Linked DNA regions of Homo sapiens: region 1 is linked to region 2. The links are contacts of gene promoters, found by promoter capture Hi-C in blood cells and fetal thymus (Javierre and others, 2016). All regions are on one chromosome and are shown on one strand. Each heading gives the region's core, a stretch centred on a gene start or on the middle of the fragment in contact. The rest is flanking DNA. Distances are from core to core; before and after follow the strand shown.

Evidence for each region. Contacts are between HindIII fragments. The CHiCAGO score rates a contact against its expected background, and 5 or more counts as called.
Region 1: a contact is called between a fragment that was not itself captured here and the fragment with the promoter of PODXL in region 2, in 1 of 17 cell types (endothelial precursors). The highest score is 5.1, in endothelial precursors.

The regions. Positions count from the first base shown.
Region 1 is chr7:131,637,066-131,642,014 of GRCh38, forward strand. No RefSeq gene overlaps it. Among named protein-coding and RNA genes, the nearest start is that of PODXL, 83 kb to the left of the region's middle. RefSeq lists an enhancer at 1,228-1,824. The HindIII fragment of the contact is 7,477 bases long and covers 1-4,949 here.
Region 2 is chr7:131,553,971-131,558,816 of GRCh38, forward strand. PODXL (podocalyxin like) reads right to left here and starts at 2,658. Exons shown (of 9, transcript NM_001018111.3): 1 at 2,290-2,658. The coding sequence starts at 2,389. RefSeq lists silencers at 2,279-2,788, 2,869-2,928, 2,959-3,078 and an enhancer at 3,046-3,593. The HindIII fragment of the contact is 4,965 bases long and covers 1-4,283 here.

The sequences.
Region 1 (4,949 bases), core at 384-2,883, 82 kb after region 2:
AACTTTAAACTTGAGCTGCCTTCAGCCACCACAGGGCATGCCTGGGCTGGGGCTTTTCTTTGTCTTTGAGGGTCAGGCCCATGCCCAGCCGAGCATTCTAGAGCAGGGAGGAAGCTAGAGGACATCTGCTCCCATCCCCTCATTTTAGAGTTGGGAAAACTGCCACCTGGAGAGAGTAAATGACCTGCTGAAGCTCACACAGCTTAGGACTCCTGACTCTTGGGCTACTGCCCTTTCTACTGAGCCATTTGGTCTCAGAGGGGCCAGTCCTCAGCAGCATCTCCTCACTGGCAGGCCATGGCCCTCTTGGTACCAGGACTTGTGTCCTCCAAGGTGGACAACCAGAGCAAGGCCACTGTCTCTGGAAAGTTGCCATTGGAATGAACATGTGAGCGCCTAAAGGGAAGGGGGTGGTAGGAGTACATGAGGACTCCTGAAGATAGGGAGTTTTAAGTCGAAGACATGAATGTCTAAGGGTGAAATTGTGAGTATCAGCCAGCTGGTGAGAGTATTATTTCTCTAGTGCCCTCAAGTGTCTTCCCAGTCCTGGGCGTTTACACTGGCGTGGGCCCTGATGCTGATGGAGTGTAGCCCCCTATTCAAACTACCTGGCTCACATGGCCACATCTGCGTAGGTCTGGGAGCAGATGGACTTGGTCATCTCAGAGGGTGGAGAATAGGACACAGAGCGGACAAAAGAGGATGTGCCAGAGAGGCCTGGGGGACCTGCTGTGGGGTTTGGGGTCCTGGATGAACCTGCTGACTGGGATACCCTGCTGTGGGCCCTGCAGGCAGCTCAGGGTGAGCACTTCCAGGAGACAGAGCCTCACTCCCCCAAAGCCCCCTTATCACCATCACAGGGAGAGCACCAGAGCCGTGAGAGCAGGTACCACCACCCCAGGCCACATTCCTCTCATAAGTGGAATAACACAATGGCCCTTTTAACTTAAACTTCCTTCTTAATTGACTGCTGCGGAGAGAGCAGTCCATCATCCCCCCACCTCCACCCCCACCTCTCCTGCTCTGGGCCCTGTTTATGGTGCTGATGAGCAGGGCGGGGGAGCTTCCTGGCTGGGCTGACATGATGATAAAGGGCAAAGCCCTGCACGCCTTGCCAGCCCCTGGCTGGGGGCTGTGGCTGGAGCCGCCTCGTACCCGAGACCCTGATGTTTAGAGAAACTTCAGGCGGACTTGTGGGCTCCCACGTTCCTGGTACAACTTGGGAATTATGTTGAATCGTGTTGGTGAGGATCCCTGGAATCCCAGTGGTCCCATTCCCCAGCCTCCCTCTCTAGATGTTTACAAGCCAGGTGATGGGCTCGGTGTTGGAGAGAGAAACATTGGCTCCCCTAGAAAGGGAACACGGTGGTCCCAGGACTCCACAGTCAGGTCTTGGCCAGTCTTGGGTGGAAAACCCAAACCCAGAGCGTCTACTAGGTGGATTAGGGACAAAGACTGCAAATCCCGATGTATCTGTGAGGCCAACCCTGGGTCTTGGCATTGGGTGGGCAGGCCCCTCGTCAGCCTCAGGATCTGTGTCAGGGTCTGTATCAGCAGCGGCACCTGCAGGAAGCAGCTGCACCTCCCATCACCTCTCAGGCCCAGAAGGTACAGAACATTGTACCCCGAGATGTTAGCCGGTGGGAAGAGGAAGGGAAGATGGTGGAAATGGATTCCATGTTAGCCGCTGGGAAGAGGAAGGGAAGATGGTGGAAATGGATTCCGAGGAAAGCCAGCTCTGCCTGAGGGGGATCTTATCAGAGCTGGGGCCAGGGCCTATTGCTCTGCAGACAGTGGGAGTTCAGCAAACAACAGTGACAATTAACATGTATTGAGTATCCAGTGTTGTTATCTGACAGACACACCTCTACATGCTTTGTAAAATATCTCTTTATCCTTGTAACAATCCTCTGATTCTTAATTGGTTTTATTTTTAACAGGTCAAGTCACTGAGGTGCAGAGACACTGCCTTCCTGTCCTAAAGTCCAGTTCAGGCCAGCTCTCTCCAGAGTTCCAGGCTTTTGGTCTCCGTCTGCAGATCTCCTTTGCTTTGAATGAGTCTGTCCCTGAGGAGGGCTAGGAGCAACCTTGAGAAGGAACATGATGGTCACTAATTCAGCCAGAACACTCTCAAGGTGCATTCTGAGCGAGGCTGATGCCAGGTGCAGAACAAACACCTCTTGCGCCTGGGAGCTTCCTGAAGTTTGGAGAATGTGTCAGATATCACCTGTTTGCCCCTGGGGGCCTAGCCCCACCCCTGTCTGCATTTCGTGCAGACTACACTGGGGCCTCCGTTGCCCTCCGTTTGGCCAGCAGGAAGCTCTGGCAAAAGATCAGTGGGATAGAGGAAGATGCTTTGGGGATTTATTTTTCCCGCTCCCTCTCTGGGGATCCCTGAAGGGACAGCTGTGCCTTCTGTCCAAGTGTCCTATTTTCCCTCTTCTCCAGGACTAGTGGTAAACCTTTTCCTAGTTCCTTCAGTTCAAAGGGGGAATAGGTGCCTTGTTCCAGCCCTGGGGTATAGCCCTGTCTCTTCTGGTTCCTCTTCAATCTGCCCTGTGTAAACAGCCCCTTTCTTTTTAAAACTCTCCTACAATAGGCCAGGCACAGTGGCTCATCAGGCCTGTAATCCCACACTCTGGGAGGCAAAAGCGGGCAGATCAGTTGAGGTTGGGAGCTCAAGACCAGCCTGGGAAACATGGTGAAACCCTGTCTCCACTAAAAAATACAAAAATTAGCCAGGTAATCCCTGCACTTTGGGAGGCCAAGGCAGGCGGATCACAAGGTCAAGAGATCGAGACCATCCTGGCCCACATGGTGAAACCCTACTAAAAATACAAAAATTAGCCGGGTGTGGTGGTGCGCACCTGTAGTCCCAGCTACTTGGGAGGCTGAGGCAGGAGAATTGCTTGAACCCGAGAGGTGGAGGTTGCAGTGAGCCGAGATCATGCCACTGCACTCCAGCCTGGGCGACAGAGTGAGACTCCATCTCGAAAAAAAATCTTTCCTGCAATCATCCTAGTTAGAGTGTGCTATTTGTTTTCTGCTGGGCACTGACTGATACAAAGAATAGGACCTATAGATAGAAAATTGCTGGTGGAGGCTGGGCATGGTGGCTCGTGCCTGTAATACTGGCACTTTGGGAGGCTGAGGCAGGCGGATCACGAGGTCAAGAGATCGAGACCATCCTGGCCAACATGGTGAAACCCTACTAAAAATACAAACATTAGGCCAGGCGCCGTGGCTCATGCCTTTAATCCCAGCACTTTGGGAGGCCGAGGTGGTTGCATCACCTGAGGTCAGAAGTTCGAGACCAGCCGGACCAACATGGAGAAATCCCATCTCTACTAAAAATACAAAATTAGCCAGGCGTGGTGGCAGGTGCCTGTAGTCCCAGCTACTTGGGAGGCTGAGGCAGGAGAATCACTTGAACCTGGGAGGTAGAGGCTGTGGTAAGCTGAGATCGCGCCATTGCACTCCAGCCTGGGCGAGAAGAGCGAAACTCCATCTCAAAAAAAAAAAAAAAAGAAAAAAAGCTGGGCATGGTGGTGTGCACCTGTAGTCCCAGCTACTCGGGAGGCTGAGGCAGGAGAATCGCTTGAACCCGGGAGGCAGAGGTTGCAATGAACCTAGATTGTGCCACTGCACTCCAGCCTGGTGACAGAGCAAGACTCTATCTCAAAAAACAAAAAAGAAAATAACTGGTGGAGCACAATTTTTCCACACTGCAGGGGAGTGAGTGCGGTAGGAGTCTGGAGGAGTGAACGTTCTTGTGGCCTGGGGCAGACGGAGAGGTCTTCCTGAAGGTCATGGGATCTGAGACCGTGAAGGACAGTGGGAACTCACATGTCTGAGTAGCTCCTAGCACGGTGCCTGAAGCATTTTTGAACAGAACTGAACTGGAATGCTTGATGCTGCCTGGTGTTCAACAATAGCTTCCAACCCCCTTCCTAGGCCTGGGTCCCAAGCAGGCCCCTTGGACTGTTGGGGAAGAGGCAGTCACTGTGCTGGGATATGTCCCTCCATGGGACCCCCCTGCCTTTTGCAGCGTTCACACAGCCCTTCTTATGTGTCAGATGGACCAGGTATGAGTGTATGCATCTTAGGTCTCTAGTGGATTCTGGGTCAAGCATGTGCCATGGGTCACATGTCAGGTGGCACAGGTATGAGTGTGCACATTTTTTTTTTTTTGAGATGGAGTTTTGTTCTTGTTGCCCAGGCTAGAGTGCAATGGCGTGATCTTGGCTCACTGCAACCTCCGCCTCCCGGGTTCAAGTGATTCTCCTGTCTCAGCCTCCCAAGTAGCTGGGATTACAGACATGCACCACCACACCCAGCTAATTTTGTATTTTTAGTAGACATGGGGTTTCTCCATGTTGGTCAGGCTGGTCTCAAACTCCCGACCTCAGGTGATCTGCCCACCTTGGCTTCCCAAAGTGCTGGGATTACAAGCATGAGCCACCGTGCCCGGCCACACATCTTAGCTCTCTAGTGGATTCTGGGTTAAGCATCCTTGCACACCACCACCACCTGCCTCCGCTCTCCCCAGTGCCTAAAACCATGCTTTGCATAGAGAGGGGGTCTAAATAAATATTGTTGACTGAATAAATGAATGAATGTATGAATGAATCTAATTCTGTCAATGTTTGAGCACCTGATGTGCTTAGCACCTTGAGAGGAGCCAGGGATACAGAGGCAGGACCTGCCCTTATTCAGGAGCTCCCAGGCAGGTGAAGCTGACCATCACCCAAAGGACCGTAGCCCAGCGGCTCAAGACTGATACAAAGAATAGGACCTATAAATAGAAAATTACCAGTGGAGGCTGGGCGCGGTGGCTCATGCCTGTAATCCTGGCACTTTGGGAGGTTGAGGCAGGCGGATCACGAGGTCAAGAGATCGAGACCATCCTGGCCAACATGGTGAAACCCTACTAAAAATGCAAAAATTAG
Region 2 (4,846 bases), core at 1,408-3,907:
TAGGCTGCATAATCTGCCCATATATTGGAAGGTAAGCTGGGGGAGAGGGGCAGGGATGGACCTGTCTGGGGATAATTCCTTTGTTGCAGAGACTCGAGCTATAAATCTTTCTTGCTTTGAATCAAATCACAGGATTCCAGCAGATGGGGGGCAGTGTTTATGCTATTCCCGATGACAGCAGCCCAGGCGACCACACCTTCAGAAGGACAGGGATGGAGCTGGCCTTACTGAGTCCCTAGAGGGTGGTGTAGAATGCACCATAGCTACTGAACAGACCAATCTTGCCGCAACATGCCCCCCACAAGCCTTTTCTGGCCTCAATACATGCAAATCATCATCACCATCATGATCATCATCCTCTCCCCATCCCCCACTTAGCACTTTGCACTTTTCTAAGTGCTTCCCAACAGTGCTGCATACTATAATGCATACAGTGCTCAGATAGGCCAAGTTACTTGCTGGTTAGAGCAGGCACTGGGTTATGGTCATTTTTGTTTGCCACATACCAAACTTCTGCCATGTGCCAAACCCTGTGTTAGGCCAGAAGTGGTGCTTCATGGAAGAGACATGGTTTCTGGCAGTGCCCAGGTGCCAGGAAAAACAGTGCCATCCTTGAAGCCAGCAGTGAGCTGGAGTCAGAGCTTTGCCCACTGGTGACTTATGAACATTTCCTTTTAGGGCAGACAGGGAGGGTCTTGTCCCACAGTGCCTCCCACTCCTCAAAGGAAGGGTGGCTCAGCTTCCTTAAGCTCAGAAGCACTAGGGACTAACCCCTCTTTCCTGACACAGCCCAACGCCCTTCTGGGTGGTTCTAAGAGGCTTCCCAACAAAAGGTTCGTATGAAGGCCCACCCTGAAGTCCAGCTGTCCCCAGAGTAGGGCTAAGGAGCCACCATACTCTCGTGTCATCTCAACCCTGCATGTCGTGTGGCTCTTCAGTGATTGCCACTCTGAAAGCTGTTCTGACTGTTCCTCACACTGCAGCCCCTCTTCCAGGGACACACATTCTTCCCCCCGCCGGGACCTTCCCTTTCTAGTCAGGCTGGTGGAGTCTCCCGCCGGCCACAGGAGGATGCCCACGCCTGCCTGCTCCCTGAGTGCCAGCGCCTGCCCACTACCAAAGGTTTCCTGCGGTGCAGAGGAGAGACTGTACTGCCCTTCCATCTCCCCTGGCCCCTTAGAGTCCAGTCCCAAACTGCCGGCACCTGCTCACAGCAGAATCCCTACCCTGTCTGTGCTGTCCCCGCAGTCCTCCTGGCCCTAGGGTGATCACACCACCTCAGCTCTTCCTGCAGACATGTGCTCAGGTGGGCAAAAGAGAATGAGAAATGCACCTCTCCCGTGGGGCTGAGCTGACTCTGGCTGTTCCCTAGGGGCTTAAGAACACCTGTTCTGGTTGAGTTTGCAGCCATCGCCTGTCCCCCAAAAGGGAAAGAGTAACATTTCACCTTGAAAAGAAACAGGGAGGGGATGTTTCTGAGGTGCAGGTGTTTCATGAGAGACAGGTACATTTTCTAAGGTGTGTCTAAAATGCAGCCCAATCCTATTCTACGAGAGAGAAGTTCCCGTTTGAACAAGTTCCCGTTTGAACAAGAGGATTCGAGGGGGGTCTCACCATCGTAGCCACGCACTAAGAAGCGATTGTTTTAGGGACACGGAGGTAGGACCCCCACTCAGCCAGGTGACTCTGGGACTGTGGAAGGTCCACTTACGACTCTGTACCTGCCCCAGCACGGGCTCAAGGAGTTGAGCCTGCACACATTACTTAGAAAAAACCTCTGCAAACGGGTAAGTACATCGCCCGCGTGGGCCGTGGCTGGAGGCTTGTCACCTGCTTCAGGGACTTCCTCGGGAGCCTCTCGCCTGCCTCTTTGCCTGGAATTAACGAATACACACTACAGCCCCTCATTCCCTCCAACACGAAGGAAAGGTGTAATCAGATCCCGAGAGTCCCGCAGAAGCGTGGAGCCTCGCGGTGCGGTCTCCCTTTTCTTTCCCATGCAAACCCACTTAGCACCGGCGCGCCCCTGTTTGCCCGGGCAGAATCCACCGCCCACTCCTCCCGAGTGGAGAGTGGAGACGAATCTACGCCCAGGCCCTGCACCTGCCGCGCTGCGGAGTTTGGAGGGGGCGTGGATGGTGCAAGGTCAGGGCTCCGTGTGTGACCCCGGCGGTGATAGGGCTGCTCGGGGTCGGACCACGCGGCGCGCCGGGCTTCCCTGCAGCTCGGCCGGGCAGGGGGCACATGGGCACGGTGGGAGTCCCGGCGGAACCCAGGCCGGCCACTCACCATTCTGGGAGGGCGACGGCGACGGCGACGGCGACGACGGCAGCAGCGGCGGCGTTGACAACAGTAGCAGCAGCGCCGAGAGCGCCAGCGCGCAGCGCATCGTGTCGTCGCCTCTGGGCCGGGAGCAGGTGGCTGCGGTGCCGGCGGAGGATCCGCGCGTCCGGGCGGTAGGAGCGTGGGCGCCGCCCGGGGAGGCCTGTGGGTGGCTCCGGAGGCCAGGCTGTGGCCCGGGGCTCCCGAGTCGCGCTGCGGCGGCTCTTCCTCCCTGCCGCTGCAGCAGAGCCGGGCTGGGGCGCAGAGCCAGTGGCAGAGGAGCGGCGGCGGCGGCGGCTGCGTCCTGGGCGGCGTCTGCGCGGCTGCGGCCCCACTGGCGGCTGCGGCTACTCCTGGCCCGTCCCGTCAGCGCCGGCCCCCGCCCCCGCCCCCGCCCCTCCCCCTCCCCCAGGAGCCCGCCAGCGGCGGCGGCCGGGCCGGGCGGGGCCGGGGCCGGGGCTGGGCGGGCGCTGGGCCGTGAACAATGAGCAGAGGAGGAAACTCCGCCCTGGAGCGCGACGGGCGGGAGGGCCGGCGGCCTCCGCGCCTTGGGGGGCTGTGTGTGCGCGGGGGCCAGGGCGGGGGGCTCCTGCGGTGCAGCCGGGCCCCGTCCACAGGTGTCCCGAACAGGTGTGTCCCCCCGAGTGCTTCTAAGTGGGCCCGGCGGGATCCCCCAGCACACCGCCGGGGCCCTCGCACTACGAGCAAATCCGGAGCGGGCGGACCCCCAGCCTTGCGTGGTAACTGATAACCATTCACGGCCTCCCGGGCTGCTGCGCGTTCTGCAGCGACCCCGGAGAAGCTCATCTCCCACCTGCCAAGTGCAATTCACCTGCCTGTGGGGCCCCCATCCCGCACGGCTTCTGAGCGGGGTCTCTCTGCAGCTAGGTGTGCAGCGGGCAAGCTGGACTAATTCACTCCTTCACCTCTCCAAGGGTAGGTTCCTTACCTGTGAAATGGAGATGATGGTTAAAAAACAACAGCAACAACAATTTCAGGGATGAATGTGTGCCAGGCTTTACATATATTAATTCTTTTACTCTTCATGACAACCATATTTTTAGCCTCATTTTGCAGACAGGGCAATTGAGTCAAAAAGAGGTTAAGAAACTTCCTGAGGCCACATAACGGGTAAGTGGCAAACCTGCCTCTGAGAGAAGTTTGGAGAAATACCGTGCACCGTGCCTGGAATATAGTAATTGCTCTGCAAGGAGTGGTTATTACTCTTATTCCTGCTATATAAAGAACAGCTATAAAGATTAGGGCTTTTGGGTCAAAACAGGCTGGGGCTCAAAACCTAACTGTGCCAATCTATTAATTGTAAAACCCTAGGCAAGCTATTCTCAGTACCTCATTTCTTTTTATCTGTAAAATAGGGATAATAACACCTACCTCAGGGGGTTGTTGGGAAACTTAAATGTGATCTTACAAGATAATACTTAGCCTAGGGCCAGGAACACAAAAGTCTCAATGAATGAAGTAGTTCGCCCTCCAAGTGAGGATCAGAGATATTTGCACACTGGGGGTGGGAGTGGGTGTTGGAGAATTCCGTAAACTGAGTTTATCCGGTGAAAGAACAAAGAAGTTCCTTTCCCCTCCCCCGCTCCCCTCCTTTTTTCCACCCCCAAAGCTGCCTGGGAGACGCAGACCCCAGGCCCGCCTGAAGAGGAGGCACATCGGCGGAGCCGGGAAGCGGAGGGGGCGAGGGGTGATTAACCTTGGAACCCGGGTACGGCGTAAATTTGGCTCACGTGACTCCGGGGTTGCTAATCTGGAGTCTATCTGCCAGATGGGGCTGGGTGGAGGGGTTTTCTCCAGGATCTAGCCGCGTCCCGGGCACAGGGGACTCCGTGAGCCCCTCAAGTCGGCTGCAAGCAGGCGATGCCTGCAGGGCACTGCGTCCCTGGAGCCGCGAAGGAAGCGCTGGAGCCCTGGCTGGGGTTCCGTGGCAGCCGGCCTCAAGCTTGGGAAGGGCTGACGGGGTTGTTTTCATCAGGAAGTTTCTGCAGGATCGTTCTGGCCCCGTTTTCCACACCGCATATGGGAAAGACAGAGGGTGTTCCCTATGAATACTCTGGGATATTTGTGTGTGTGACTATCTTTGATGTTTTTTTAGTACTGTTCCCCTGATATCATGTCAACAAAAGGCTTGTTTCTCTTCTGAAACCAAGCAATATATATATATATTTTTTTTTACACTGGGATTTTAAAAAATGTGTATCGCACTCTGATTTAAACAGTGTTTTTGCACTCAATCATTCAATTTATCTAAAAACTCAGAAGCAATCATGTTAACTTTATAAAGAGAGAGCGTATATTTTGAAGCTTAGGGCATTTTAAATTCACATGATTTGGGATTGGTGCCATTACAAGATCATGCAAAATTAAAATGAGAGCAGACATCTGGGCTTAGAGAAGACATAGAAAAGTTACAATTGTGCTGGACTCTCCCCAGTATCCAACAGCCCCCCTCAACTTATGCACAACGTGGCTTTCTGGAATGAGGCTGGCTGGGTTTTGAGGT